Regions from separate parts of the Homo sapiens genome. Here region 2 is linked to region 1. Evidence: promoter capture Hi-C in 16 types of primary human blood cells and fetal thymus (Javierre and others, 2016). All regions are on one chromosome and are shown on one strand. The core of a region is centred on a gene start or on the middle of the fragment in contact, and the rest is flanking DNA. Distances in the headings are between cores, read along the strand shown.

What was found. The method cuts DNA at HindIII sites, captures the fragments that hold promoters and counts their contacts. A CHiCAGO score of 5 or more calls a contact.
Region 2: the fragment with the promoter of PARD6B here is called in contact with the fragment with the promoter of AURKA in region 1 in 1 of 17 cell types (fetal thymus); the score reaches 6.5 in fetal thymus.

The regions. Positions count from the first base shown.
Region 1 is chr20:56,385,746-56,393,464 of GRCh38, reverse strand. It overlaps AURKA (aurora kinase A), which reads left to right and starts at 1,250. Exons shown (of 9, transcript NM_198437.3): 1 at 1,250-1,297; 2 at 5,263-5,309; 3 at 6,932-7,208. The coding sequence starts at 5,268. CSTF1 (cleavage stimulation factor subunit 1) reads right to left here and starts at 820. Exons shown (of 6, transcript NM_001324.3): 1 at 752-820. RefSeq lists enhancers at 865-1,104, 6,180-7,379. The HindIII fragment of the contact is 5,454 bases long and covers 983-6,436 here.
Region 2 is chr20:50,727,822-50,735,540 of GRCh38, reverse strand. It overlaps PARD6B (par-6 family cell polarity regulator beta), which reads right to left and starts at 3,961. Exons shown (of 3, transcript NM_032521.3): 1 at 3,689-3,961. The coding sequence starts at 3,754. RefSeq lists silencers at 3,519-4,308, 4,409-4,618 and enhancers at 4,809-4,858, 5,811-7,010. The HindIII fragment of the contact is 2,238 bases long and covers 2,539-4,776 here.

The DNA.
Region 1 (7,719 bases), core at 1-2,500:
AAATCACAAGTGGGTAGTCTGGCAAAGAAAAGTTGATGAGAGATTCTACTGTTAACGTTGGGTTAATATGACTCGAATAATTTCCGTATGCTAGCTCAATGCTTTACATGCACATCCTGTTTACCCTGCAGTAATCTGTTAATTCGTCTTATGTGAATTTAACTCTTAGTCCTAATAAGGTACCTGGAAGGATGGAGGGAAGCCATTTTTGGTTCCCCTACACCACTGTTCTATCCGGTCTCTTCACTTCTGCTGAGCACATCCCGGGTGTACATACACACACACACACACACATATGTGTGTGTATATATATGTATATGTGTGTGTGTGTGTATATATATATATATTTTAAGTGGCCCACCCCTAACTTCTCAACTCCCACAGAACGTTCACTCGCCAGGTAAACAGAAGCCTAATTATCCCCAATTTGCAGGTGAGCACACGAGGACAAGAACCCGATCCAGGACCGGATACATCGCAGTTGGAAAGGCTAGAACACAGATGCCCCCTCACTATATGCGCCGCGACCATCTGGATGCAGAGGCGAACTAAGGACTGGGTGGGAATGGAAGCGAGGCCCTTCGAGAAGAGGAAGGGGTGCAGGCCAAGCCGGGCAACTTAGGAAACGCAAAGTAGAGGCGCATGCCACCTTGCTAACTCTCGACTCTTCCAGTCTCGCCCCAGTCGTTTCTGTGGTTTTCTCTAAATGCCCCAGCCGACCGCACCAGCTACTCTCCCCGTGTCCCAGTACCAGCTGGTCCGGTTCTCTTGGTATCCCGCTCTCTCCTGGAAAAATGGAGGCGCGAATCCTGCCCAATCTACCGCTCCGAGCGCACGTTCACTGCGCACGCTGAAAGGGCGCCAAGCCGACCGCTGCGCTATCGATCGGTCCCACTCTCTCTTGCTTTTCTCGCCATCTTACTTACTGGCACGTTCAAAGGTTAGTTCACCTCCTTGGACTTTATCTCCAATGCGTCAAGCTTGACGTCAAGGGGCTGTTGCTTCACCGATAAATGGCCGACCGCGGAGAGCACCCTGGGGCTGGGACTGCCACAGGTCTGGCTGGCCGTTGGCTCCACCACTTCCGGGTTCTTAGGGAGCAAGTGCGCCTGCGCGCGGTGTGCGCCCTTAAACGCGACTCAAGGCGTCGGGTTTGTTGTCAACCAATCACAAGGCAGCCTCGCTCGAGCGCAGGCCAATCGGCTTTCTAGCTAGAGGGTTTAACTCCTATTTAAAAAGAAGAACCTTTGAATTCTAACGGCTGAGCTCTTGGAAGACTTGGGTCCTTGGGTCGCAGGTGGGAGCCGACGGGTGGGTAGACCGTGGGGGATATCTCAGTGGCGGACGAGGACGGCGGGGACAAGGGGCGGCTGGTCGGAGTGGCGGAGCGTCAAGTCCCCTGTCGGTTCCTCCGTCCCTGAGTGTCCTTGGCGCTGCCTTGTGCCCGCCCAGCGCCTTTGCATCCGCTCCTGGGCACCGAGGCGCCCTGTAGGATACTGCTTGTTACTTATTACAGCTAGAGGTACAAGGGGTTTGTTGAGTGGTGTTGACATGCGCGGGAGGGGTGGGTGGGCTTCAGATTGGATTTTGTCCTCCGAGATCACCTGGGTAAGAAAAGCACAGAAGGTCTCTGCTGTGTTGGAGTTCACGTTCTAGTGGGTGGGGAGACAGACGGTAAGCGTACGGAGAACTTGCAGCTGGGGTGGGTGTTACAGAGGAAAAGCAGGAGTGCGGTTTAACGGGGGCCGCTTTAGATAGAATAGCCTAAGAAGGCCCTTGTCCTGGCTGGATGAGTGGGTGAATTGATGAATGAGAACCTCCTTGCAGAGGCCTTCCCGGTCCGTACTTCTCAGACCGTAGACCTTGGAGCAGTTGTACCGGGATAACTTGCAGTGCTTGTTAAACATATAGCTCCACCGAGAGCCCGGTAAATCAGAATCTCTGAGGGGTAGGACCCAGGTGTCTAGTTATTAACAAACTCTCCAGATGATTCTTAGGTTTCATTGAGAACTAGGGATGCAGACCGGTGCATACAAATCGTCTGGGGACGTTAAAATGCAGAATCTGTTTTTTTAGACCTGGGGTTAGGCCTCAGAGTCTCCATTTCTAAGAACCATCCGGCTGAGGTAGACGTAGCCACTGTCCTTAACTCTCGTAATGTCTCTTCCTCTTCCGTAACCTTCCTTGTCCCTTGAATTAAACGTTTTTCAGCAACCTACTCAGTTCGTCCTTCCCTTCATCTCTGCAGACATGCACAGGTCTGAGGGAGGAAGGAATAAACCGTATAAACCTCCTGCGCTATTAGCCTAACAGCTTTTCTATTCAAAATAGTAGGACTTCTGGTTTGAACTGAATGGATCCTGTGAAAGTCATCTGGTTCTTCAATCTGGTTGCAGATTAGAGTCACCTGAAGGGCAGTCTCCTTGGCGTTGTCTCCAGAATTCTGGATTAGAATCTTATTCCATTCTGCTTGTTATTCAATTTCCCTAGAAAGAAAGGTAGAATAAATTGGAGCAAATGCCTGTAGCTTCTGTCAGAAGAATGTTGAATAAATGTTGTTAGGCCTATGTGATCTCATTAGACTGCTACTTAGAATTGTAAGGGAAGTAAAGCATTAGAGCATGTGTGAAATTAAATATTTGATTAACACAAGTGTGCATTTCCTTGTTGCTGTTTATCAACTTTTACTTACCCACTGTTTTTTTATAAGGGCTGCAGCCTGTAGTCTGGGCCTGGCTTCATCATGGAATTATTTGCTTAATTGTAAAATGGTAATCTTAATTTTTTTTTTTGAGACAGGGTCTCACTCCATTGCCCAGGCCAGAGTGCGGGGATATTTGATAAGAAACTTCAGTGAAGGCCGGGCGCGGTGGCTCATGCCCGTAATCCCAGCATTTTCGGAGGCCGAGGTGGGTGGATCACCTGAGGTCGGGAGTTCCAGACCAGCCCTACCAACATAGAGAAACCCTGTCTCTACTAAAAATACAAAATCAGCTGGGCGTGGTGGTGCATGTCTGTAATCCCAGCTACTCTGGAGGCTGAGGCAGGAGAATTGCTTGAACCCAGGAGGTGGAGGTTGCGGGTGAGCCGAGATTGCGCCATTGCACTCCAGCCTGGGCAACAAGAGCAAACTCTATCTCAAAAAAAAAAAAAAAGAAACCTCAGTGAAATGAAAGACTGAACTACACACCTGGGGGAAAAGCGTAATAAAGGGAGCAAGAAGTGCAAATGCTTATGGCAGGGGACTTATTTGCAGAAAGAAAGCCTTGTGTGGCTGGTACACGGTTGACAAGAAGAGGAGATGAAGTCAGAGAGGTAGTTAGGGTCCATGTTCTGTGAGACTTCAATAGGCCTGTCTATGCAGGTTAGGAGTTTGCATTGTTTTGATTGAGTTGGGAGCCATGGGGGTCTTCTGAACTGAGGATCAACACATCTGATTTGTTAATGAGATTGCCGGCCTCAGTGTTAAGAATGGACCATGACAGGGTAAGGGTGGAAGTGGGGAGGCCATTGGGAGGCTGTTGGAAAAAACTCAAGGGAGAGAGAATAATGGTTTGACCAGGTGGTAGTAGTAGAGGTGGTGAGCAGTGATCTTGAAGGCAGAGCCTACAGAATATGCTGGTGGATTAAATGAAGGGTTTGCGAGAGAGAACCTCGTAAAGGGTTATTATGCCAAGGCTTTTGGCCTGAGCAACTGACAGGATGGGTTTGCCATGCACTGAGATGAGGATGTCTAGAGACTAGATTTGGGGAGGTGAGAGTGGGGAGAGATTAGGACTTCTGTTTGGGACATGTTAGAATGGAGATGCCGCTCAGATAATCAGGTGCAGATGTTGCATAGAAAGTAGAAAATGTAGATCAAGAGTTCAGGGGAGAGGTCTGGGCTGAAGAATGAATATTTGGGAGTCCTCAGCCTGTAGATGGTACTGAAAGCAAAGAGACTGGATGTACTCGGCTAGGGAGTAATTGGAGATGGAGAAGTCATTCTAGGCCTGAGCTCAGGGCACACCCATGAACAGGGAGGTGAGAAGTGGAGAAGGGAAGAGGTTCAGTTTTGGATATGTTAGGATTGAGGTGCCTGGCAGACATTTTTGGGAGATCCTGGGCAAATCCTTGGATATCCAAGTCTGACAGTCCAAGGAGAGACTAGGGCAGAAGACGCACTTTGAGTGGTCCTCATGAAGGCATTTAGAGCTGAGGCACTGGGTGATATGGATCCCTGGTGAAGGTGTAGATGGAGAAGTGGAGGGTCCAGGGACTCGTTCTTGAGTCACCCCAGACCCTTGATCTGGCAAAAATGAGACTGACCCAGCAAGGAGGGAAAGACAGGACGACTAGGTGGTAGATAAACCTGGAAGTGAAGTGAAGAAAAAAGTGTAAGATGTGATCAACCTTGTCAGATTCTGCTGAGGATGCAAGTACGGGGAAGGTGGAATTGACCCTTGGGTTTGGCAGCAGTAGGTGTCAGCCATGAGCCTGACAATGTGGTGGAGACAAAAAAGCCAGGTGGGGATGGGCTCAGGGGAGGGGAGAGGAGCAGTAGAGGTGGCAAGTGTGGACGGTTCTTCTGGAGCTTTGCTGTTGGAGAGGAGGGGGTCATTGTTAGCAACGATAATAGAATAAAGAGGACTTTTATTTTATTTTATTGTTTTGAGACGAAGTCTCGCTCTTTTCCCATAGGCTGGAGTGCAATGGTGTGATCTCAGCTCACTGCAACCTCTGCTTCCTGGGTTTAAGTGATTCTCCTGCCTCAGCCTCCCGAGTAGCTGGGATTACAGGTGACTGCCACCACGCTCAGCTAAGTTTTGTATTTTTAGTAGAGACGGGGTTTCACCATGTTGGCCAGGCTGGTCTCGAACTCTTGACCTCAGGTGATCCGCCCACCTCGGCCTCCCAAAATGCTGGGATTACAGGTGTAAGCCACCATGCCCGGCCTAAAGAGGACTTTTTTAAGGTAGCAGGTATGCCAGTAGGCTGCACAGGGATGGAAGTGATCCATTAGAGGAGAGATGATGGAGCAGCAAGACCATCAGGAGTGAAGACTCCGTGACAGAGGATGGGACGCAGTGCCCAAGGGGAGGTTGGCCTTGCAGGGAAAGCACATGCCTGTCCCTCCCTCATTAGCTTCATTTGGACAAAACATGTAAAATCCGGTGTGTTGTGGAGGCCTTTTGATTGGGGAACTGTAACGCTGCCTATCGAGCAACAGCACTTTAAGCAGGTGGCTTTGTTCAAATTAAAGGTTCTTCTTTTTCTTTTCAGGCATCATGGACCGATCTAAAGAAAACTGCATTTCAGGACCTGTTAAGGTAAATTGAATAATCTGTAATCTCATTCACATTTATAAACCCACATGGAGGTTGGTCTTGTCGGGAATTCTTTCCGCCTTTACTTTGGATTTAAATTTAGATCCCTTACTGTGATCCTGGATATGAATTAGTCACTTTTCTCGTGTTCAGTAACATTTTGCTGCTTCTTAGAGTAGCTTTTTTGTTCTGCTTTGTCTTATAATCGGCTGCTTAAGTTTCTATATCCCTCCACTGTATGCAGGATAATAGTAATAATGCATCTGGCAGGAGTTCAAAACTTTTAAAATTGGCCATAAATATAAAATAATTAGAAAAAGGCTACCTTGAATTACTGTATTTGATTCTAAGTTCCTATGATAACGGCCATTTAAAAAATTGCTCTATATTTAAAATGTTTCTTTTTATTTGTCTTTGTCTGAATGCCTGCTGCGTTGTGGACAGTGTGCTAATTTCAGGAGTAACTGACTTTGTATTTGGAAGTCTTAACACCCTCTCTTTGTAGAGCACTCATACCGTTGAGCTGGGGATGGACTTTGAGGCTTTCATTTCTAGCACTTGTCCCTCACTTACAATGAGCTGTTGAAGCTGAAGGAAATCTCATCCCTCCTACCCCTTTTAGTTTGATTAGCTGAGGGTGTTAGAGTTAACTTAACAATTTAAGGTTGTAATACAGTACTTACAGGCGTATAAATAATACATTTCAAGGCTGGGCGCGGTGGCTCACGCCTGTAATCCCAGCACTTTGGGAGACCAAGGAGAGTGGATCACAAGGTCAGGAGTTCAAGACCGGCCTGGCCAAGATGGTGAAACCCTGTTTCTACTAAAAATACAAAAAATTAGCCAGGCGTGGTGGCAGGCGCCTGTCGTCCCAGCTGCTTGGGAGGCTGAGGCAGAGAATTGCTTGAACCTGGGAGGCAGAGGTTGCAGTGAGCCGAGATCATGCCACTGCACTCCAGTCTGGGTGACAGAGCAAGACTCCATCTCAAAAATAATAATAATAATACATTTTAGTAGTAACTTTGTGAAGTGTCTACATTTGTTTCCTCTTTGTCAGTTTTTTGCTCAATTCCATTTTGTCAATACTTGGAAAATGAAACATTGGTTAATCAATAGTACAGTAATAAGCTTATTGTGGAAAATCTTCGATATATGAAAACTTAGACTCTTCTAAAACTTCATGAAGATAATACCACTGTTGAACGTTTTGACGTATTTTTTTTTGGTCTTTTTCTTAAACGTATATTATCAAAGAAATTTCAATGGAACTGAGATTTTGGCATAAAGTTTTTGTATCATAGCTTTTTGCCAAATAGCAATGTAGTGTCTATTTCCAAATTATTGAGAAATTTTAGAAAGTGTCTCCTTCATTAATGGATATTTGTTAATAAAGCATGATTTTTAGGGGTGAGGAATTGGAGGGGATAGAAGGTATCATTCAGGTATTCTTAGCCACATACTAACTATCCTCTGGAGGTACTGATTAAAATACCTTTTCACCTTCCATCTCTTATCAGTGACATTCATTATTTTGCTATACTAGAGAACAAACTTTGTGAAATTCTCAATATATTCATCTTTTGCTTTCATGAATGCCAGAAAGTTTATTTTCTCTTCCATTCTAGGCTACAGCTCCAGTTGGAGGTCCAAAACGTGTTCTCGTGACTCAGCAATTTCCTTGTCAGAATCCATTACCTGTAAATAGTGGCCAGGCTCAGCGGGTCTTGTGTCCTTCAAATTCTTCCCAGCGCATTCCTTTGCAAGCACAAAAGCTTGTCTCCAGTCACAAGCCGGTTCAGAATCAGAAGCAGAAGCAATTGCAGGCAACCAGTGTACCTCATCCTGTCTCCAGGCCACTGAATAACACCCAAAAGAGCAAGCAGCCCCTGCCATCGGCACCTGGTAAACTAGCTTTTGAGACTCATTGGATAGTCCTTCTTTGTCGTCGTTGCTAAAAAAGCCAGTGTATATACTTGCACTTATTGTTTGGAGCCTTAGCTTTTATATCTGTTGAGGATGGGGAGAAAATATGGTGTCTGGGTTGAAGTAACAGTGTCTGCCCATGGGCCAGACCTATGCTAAAAATACAGACCTGATTCTCACCCTCTTGGAAGAGTTGGGCACCCAGGGAGGACACAGCATAAATTGGTGTCCTTTTGATTGCTTGTTACTGAGTCTGGATGTAGGGTGCTTGCAGTAAGTGACTTGAAGGGACTGAGATCTAAAGTGTGGGGGAAATCCAGAGAAGTGGGTGAACTGAGGCAGGCTGCGGTGAGGTCACCATGGGCATTGCTGGCCATGTTAAGGAATGGGGCCTCATCTCTAGGGCATTTGGAAGCTACTGAAGCTTTTTTGAACTCAGAAGGGAACTCTGCCTTTTAGAAAGTTTACTGTGGAAGGCCAGGCGCAGTGG
Region 2 (7,719 bases), core at 2,712-5,211, 5.7 Mb after region 1:
ACTGTTTCATAGCCTAGTTTGCCCTAGCCATCCAGAATGTGTATGGACTCCCTTCCCCCAGTGTCTGTTGGTACATTCTAGAAATGCAAACTTAATTTTCATAGTCTATTTGCCTATGAATAATAATTAGGAAATTTTATGACTCAAAGACTGTTCCAGGGTTATTAAAGGACATCATCAAGATTATTGATTAAGAATCTTCCCAACACTAGAGATACAATTAGGAAGATAAAACAGTTACCAAAGAAAAGTCACATACTAGCTGGTACCACAAATTGAACTATAGGTATATTTACATTCTCCATTCTTTTATCATTACTATTTTTCCCTTCCACGTGTGAAGATAATAATGTTGACACTACTGCTTTATTGCATTTTTTTATTTTTTTGAGACAGAGTCTCCCTCTGTCACCCAGGCTCTGAAGTGCAGTGGCGCAATCTCGGCTCACTGCAACCTCCGCCTCCCAGGTTCAAGCAATTCTCCTGCATCAGCCTCCGGAGTAGCTGGGATTACAGGCATATGCCATCACGCCCCACTAATTTTTATATTTTTAGTAGATACAGGGTTTCACCGTGTTGGCCAGGCTGGTCTTGAACTCCTGACCTCAGGTGATCCGCCCACCTTGCCCTCCCAAAGTGCTAGGATTACAGGTGTGAGCCACCATGCCTGGCCAACATTACTGTTTATATGAAGAAAAAGAGATCCTAAAAATGGACCGGAACCCAGTGTGGTGGCTAATGCCTATAATCCAAACACTTTGGGAGGCCTAGGTGGGAATATCACTTGAGCTCAGGAGTTAGAGACCAACATGACCAACATGGCAAAACCCTGTCTCTAAAAAGATAAAAAAAAATTGAAAATAGTAAGAGAAAAATGGACCAGCTAGGTGCAGTGGCTCACGCCTGTAGTCCCAGTACTTTGAGAGGTAGAGACGGGCGGATCACTAGAGCTCAGGTGTTCAAGATCAGACTGGGCAACATGGAGAGACCCCATCTCTACAAAATAAATAAATAAATAAATAAATAAATAAGCTGGGTGTAGTGGTGCACGCCTGTAGTCTTGCTACTCAGGAGGCTGAAATCGGAGAATCGCTTGAGCTCAGGAGGTTGAGGCTGCAGTGAGCCGTGATCGTGCCATTGTACTCCAGCCCGGGTGACAGAGCAAGATCCTGTCTCAAAAAAAAAAGGACCGGCACACTACCTAGTTTTGGTTATAAACTCTTAGCAATCAGTTTTGTAAAAAGCTGTGGTATCACTAAAGCAATGTCAAAGAAAATACTGTTTCAAAAACCCTTCCAAATATTTTTTAAATGGTTAAGGTGACAAATGTTTCAATCTACTGAAAATAAATGTATCAGCAATATATATTTGAAACATATAAGGTGTCATAGACATACTAGAAACACTCACTACCTATATCTTGCCTATTTGTCAACAGCTAGAATAGTGGGACCGACTTCATTCAGCACATGTTCCTAGAATCAGTGTATGATTCTATTTAAAAGACACAGTTAGCTGAAAGTGCAGTATGGCAGTTCAAATATACAACATGTAGTTTAGACAGAAGTAAGTGAAAGATTCACAAATCAGTTGACAAGAGAAAGGCAAAAAGCCTGAAATTCCAGTTTTAAAGCACTCAAGGTTTCTTAGTACTAGAGATAAATTACTATTTGATTGTATTTATCAGTATACTTAGAATTCCTACTCATTTTTTTCTGTGGAAAAAAATTAAAGACTTGCTACCAAGATTAGGGCTATAAACTTAAAATTTTAAGATTATGCAATATCACAAGTGTTTTTCTTTCCATAACCTCAACTCCCACAAATCCAAACTAAACTTATAACAAAAATGCCATAAGAAGGTTCAACCACTGGGCATGGAACCTCTACTGCCACCATACCGCTAAAGGAAAAGTTCTGCTATGTATTTTGGGTCATCTTAACGCTATAGCTCAAGCAAGTCACTTCAATTTGCTATGCTGTGCACAGAGGACACATGGACATGCACATTCCTTAAATTGCTGTAACTACACGTCTTTTCTTACTAATTCTGAAACTAGTGCCAATCCTCATGTAAGTGCCAAGCCGTTTTTGTTTTTGTTTTGTTTTGTTTTTTGAGATGGAGTTTTGCTCTTGTTGCCCAGGCTGGAGTGCAATGGTGCAAACTTGGCTCACTGCAACCTCCACCTCCCGGATTCAAGCGATTCTCCTGCCTCAGCCTCTCAAGTAGCTGGGATTACAGGCATGTGCCACCACGGCCGGCTAAAAATTTTTTGTATTTTTAGTAGAGATGGGGTTTCATCATGTTGGCCAGGCTGGTCTGGCACTCCTGACCTCAGGTGATCCACCCGCCTCGGCCTCCCAAAGTGCTGGGGTTACAGGCGTGAGCCACCGCGCCCAGACTCAAATCACATTTTTTAATGATGTTACAAACGAATGTCGATTTTCTCGATGTGATTCTCAGTTACAGAAACTTACAGAACTTTGCTTATCAACCCTAGACAATAAAACTATTCTACCTAGAGGCTCTAGGAAGCTTTCCTTACTCCACTGTACCTCACTCAAATCACTCCTTGATTTTACATACTCCTTAGTAGTCTTACCATCTATGATGCTCCATTACTTTTTTTTTTTGAAATTGATATACTTTCAATTTTCTCCTTTTCTGTGTTTTGGCCTTCTCAATTCTATTTTAAATGTTCTCAGGGCCCAGCCAGTGTCCTGTTTTGTATTCTGCAATGTCTAGAAGTTATTAAAAAGGCATGAAGGCTTTGCAAAAAAACAGCTTGAGGAAGTCATAACCTTTCTAAGCCTCAGTCTTCTCAGAGAATTGGGCTAGATTATCTAAGCTCCTTTTAACTCTTCAACTCAAGAAACGCTTGCTGAAAGTGTTCCCTTGGCTGCCGATCACCTTCAAATTCCAGCTCAAAACCCCCTTTGGAAGGCATTCCCTAACTAATCCCTCCCTACAGACTACCCTGCTCACTGAGCCTTGAGATTTAGAAATTCAGTGAATACCGAAGTAATTATCAGCAGATTGGCATACCGTTGGTCAAGGGGAAAAGCACTTGATGTGAGTAGGTAGCAGGATGGAATGAAAAGAGCATCTAGAGTCAAACTGTAAAGTGCTACTCCAACGTAAGGTGATAGTACTAATTTTACAGATTAAATGCATACCAAAGTTAGTGCTAGAAAGAGCGCCAGCAGGAAGCAAAGCGAACTTTTAAAGGGCTGTTTAGTTCACTGGGCTCTCTCCTTCGCCACTCGATGCGCCCCTTAACCACAGAAAGTGGGAACAACGGGGTGGTCCAGGGCCCTTTACTCACAGCCCAGCAGGCAGGATTCTCCTACACCTTTTGAGCAGCCTCGCATTTCACTCAGTGTGCGCCATCCTTGGATATACCTTGGCCCCTACTCCCGTCCGTGAACACGGGAATGAGATTTACGGAATGAGATTAAATGCTGGACTAGGTCTTCTTCCTGCCCGGGCCAGGGGCGGACACTAGCGCCCCCTGACCCCCGCCACCCCCTCCTCGGCAAGTTTATTACCCACAGTCTCCCGACCGCACCGTCCAGACCCCGGGGCAGCTCAGCCCGTCGCCTCCCCCGGCGCTCCGAGCCTGGCCCGGCCTCTCCCAGGCCCCGGCCCCCCAGGCCCGCCGCTCCGCCCAGCCCGGGCCCCGCGCACCTTGCTCTTCACCTCCATAGTGCCCAGGCAGCCGCTGCCCGCCCCGTGCCGGTGGCTGCGGTTCATGCTGAACGCCGAGCCCCGCGACGGCCTCCTCCGGCCGGGCGGCCCCTCAGGAGCGCGGGGAGCGAGTGCGCGACTGGGGATCTCGGAAAGCGGTTGCGGCCCGGGCGCCTCCTCACAGGCACCTGCAGAGGGGGCGGCCGCAGCTCCGGCGTCCGCGCTGAGCTCCACTCCACCAGCTGCTCACACGGCGGGACCGAGGGTCGGACTGGTGGCGCGGCAGGCGGGGAAGCAGCTCCCTCCCTCCGGGCCCCGGCGGCGACGGCGACAGCGCTGGAGGAGAGGAGGGGGCGGAGCGGAGGCCACAAGCGCCGCAACCTCTCCCTCTGCCGCCTCCCCCGCGAGCCCGCGCGCGCGCACCCGAGCGGACCACAGCCGCGGCGCGTGCGCGCGCTCACCTGCAGCCCCCGAAGATGCCGCAATCCCTCGCGTTCCGCCCACACCCAATAGAAAGCGCGCACCTGCGCCCGCGGCGCCAACCAATCGATACACGCCTCGCGCGGTGCGTGGGCGGGCTGCCTCCTCAAAACCCCGCCTACCACCGCACGATTGGTCCTGCGCTACGAGGGAGGGGCGGGATCACCTGAAGCCATGGCCCTCCGCCCCGCTTCAGGCCGGAGAGCCAGAAGGCGCATGCGCGGGTGCTGGAGTTTCCGCCCCGGGAAGGCACGCGGGGAGGCCGGCCGGAAGCGCGAGCGCACCTGAAGAAGGGCTCGGCTGGGTGGGCCTTTTGCGCACGCGCGAGCGCGCGCCTGGTTGCCCGGCTCCGCCGGGGCTCGCGCCGCTTAGCGCGCGCCAGTCACACGCACGGTCCAGGGGATTGGATGCGCCGCCCGTCCGGTTGCCGAGGCGCTGCGGGGCTATTCGGTTCCAGCCGGGCCCCCTTCCCGCTTCCACTTTGGGATGCTGCAGCCCCCAACGACGCCCCTCCACCGCCCCTTATCGTTGCTTAGGCGTCCCGCTGCAACTCTTGGTTGCAAAATTCAAGTTTTCCCGCCTCTGCAGCGGTTGCTGGGGGAGAAGCTTAGGGCTCTCTTGGCTTCATTTTGTCCGAAGAGACTCTGCACGCCTTAAGTCCGTCAGGTCGAGAGGGAAGGAAAGTGGGCTGAGGCGCGGGAAGGCTCCTTGCAGGCCCAGCCTCCCTGAGGATTTCTAGTCCAGTCTTTCAGGGCTTTTTTTTTTTTTCTTTAAAAGTCTTCCTTTTCCCTCCTCCCGCCATTCCTTGGCCATTCGCTGTTTCTACAAATGACAGCCTCTAGGTTGTGTTCGTTTCCCGGAGTGACCAAGCTGTGTCCCAGAGCAACAAAACGCTGAATCCTCCTCTCTGAACGTCCCAGAGCCCGGCCTCTCTTCACACAGACCCTGTGGGTCATGGGGAGGAGAGGAGAAGACTGAAGCTTTTGGCTGGAGGAGATTCCCAGGTCCCAAGGTCTCCCTGTGGGACCCGGGAATCCAAGAGCTGTTGAAACCTGCAAGCCAGGAAGGGGGCAGGGGAATGGAGGTGGAGGGGAAGGTCCAACCTGAGATTTGGCAAGAAGAGTGGTTAGGGTACCTTCCTCCCCTCATCTCCCTGCCCACCTCGGAGGCCTCCTAACACTTGTACCCCTGTTGCCCAGCACTTGTTACAAGTTACAGGTTTCCCATTTTTGTGTGCATCTGAGTTTTGTGAGTAATCTGCCACCAGCCTAGAATGAAAGCTCCCGAAGGCGCAGGGACGGCTTGTGCTTTGCTGGCATTGAGTGGCACAGAACCCGACTCCCAGCGGGTACTCAGATGGGTCTTTGCTGGGTGCTGCCACTGAGGGTGTCCCTTCTGCAGGCTCTTTGCCCCACTTGGGTTCAAAGGCGAGAAGCTCATTTTTTTCCCTCTGGAGGATTCAGGTAACCAGACGTTTTGTGGGAGGATTTAAGGTTTTTCTGGCCACCTGTGGCAGCACAGGTGGAAAGGACACCAATCCAAGCTGTATAATAAATAAGCAAGCTGCCTCCACCCCCTGTTTGAAAGCACATAGGAGGTGACTCAAGTTCAGCCGGAAATAAAGTGCATGTCAGGGCCTGTAACTCCCCTGTTTGGACTAGCACAGCAGTTCCCAACCTTTTTGTTTTCAAGACCCCTTTACACTATTAAAAATCATGGAGGACCCCAAAGTACTTTGTTTATGTGTAATGTCTTTCAATATTTATCTTAGAATTAAAACGGATGTGTCCAAAACATGGGAGTACACAAGCATGCATTCCAACAGTCATCAGAGTGATGATGTCATCACATGTCTTGTCCCTTCTGGAAAACTCCATTGTATACTCGTGAGACAATGGGAATGATGAGAACAAATGACATCTTAGTTTTGTGAAAGCAGTTTTGGCCTTGCAGAGACCCCCGTAAAGGGGTCTCAGGGACTCCCAGAGACCACACTCTGATCATGGCTGGACTAGATACCATGTCACCACCTTTAGAGAGCTCCGTTCTTAGGTCTCCTCCTCCTCTCCCTGATTGGCAAGGCCACACCCTGGGAGCAGCACCCCAGCTCTGTGTGAGTGAGTGTTGGGTGGTTGAGTTTTACTCCTGTTATCGGTACTGATTTATCAGGAAGTTCGTGGGTGCCAGTGCACCTGCGTGGGCCCTGCATTCCTGGAGGTGTCGTCACATCCTCTCTCCCTTCCCCAGGTGTGGCATCCCTCTTTACTTGGACTTTCCTTTCTAGAGGGAGGGCCAGGCCAGAGCTTCCTGGATTTCTTAAGGAAAATTATTTCAACCCGTGCGCCTGGGTTGTATAAGGAAGAAAAGTAGAAAATAGTTGGAATTTGATAAAGGTATTGTGAAGGAAGAAAATCCTTTCATTCTGAGAGATGTTAAGGCCACAAGTGTGTTCACTGGGCCTGAATTTCAGCCTTTCTTGAGAAGCATGATCAGCACAGACGAGGATTTTATATTCCCGTTTCTTCCATTTGAAGGCTAACCCTAACCTTATTTCTGTCCATCATCCCTCCCCACCCCCAAATCCTCAAGCTAAAGCTGATCAAGACTTACAAGTGGCCTAAAAAGCTAGTCCCCTGCCTGGGAGAATTAATACTCAGTGGGTTAGGGAGATAAGTAAGGTGAACATATGACATTATGGACTCTCTAAATTATAGGTTCACAGAATCGTTAGTCCAGAATGGGCTACCAGAGATAATCACGCCCATACACTGTCAGGCCTCTCCACTCTCTGAAAGAAGTTAGTGAAGGTTACACTCCTGCTTTCTGCTCCTTTTCAATACTGTCTGTGTCTTTAGGTTCTACAAATACCCTGTTGTGTTTGTTTGAAAGCTACCTTGTGAGGTGAAAGGAGTTTGTAATTTTCCACAATTAGTTTTCTTAATTCATTATTGTGTAATGATTCTTCTTCCTTTCCTTCTTCCTCTAACTCTTAGGAAAAAAAAAAAAGGTGGCAAGAAGTCATCTGTAATGCTGGTAAAAATTTTTTCAATAAATTTCTCTTGCCAGCTCTTTTTCTCCTTGATTGCACAAGTTCCAATTCTGATGGAGCTGGTTAATCATTCTTTGAGAAATAGTTGAAGTGTATATTTACGAATATCAGACTACTCACTGAAGCATTTTAAGCCCTTTAGCAGAGGTGGAATTAAGTCACATGATCTGTTTTCTGGTTAATAGCTTATAATACTGTACTGCTTTTTGCGCGGAGCTGGGGTGGTGGTGCTCACAGACAGAGAGACGAATGAATTGTTTTCTGTAGCCTTTAGGACGTGAGAGCCCTTTTAGGTAAAAACTCAGCTTTGCAGGAGGCAGTATGTGCCAGGCACGGTGCCTAAGCCTTGCCCTTGGCTTGGTCTGCCACGGGTTTGCTTTCTGACCCCTCTCTCGGACTCAATTTCTCCATCTGTAAATGCAGGACCTGATGAGATCATCTCCACAACCCCTTCCAGCTCATAACATTCTATGGTACTCCAGGGATAATGGAGATTGATCAT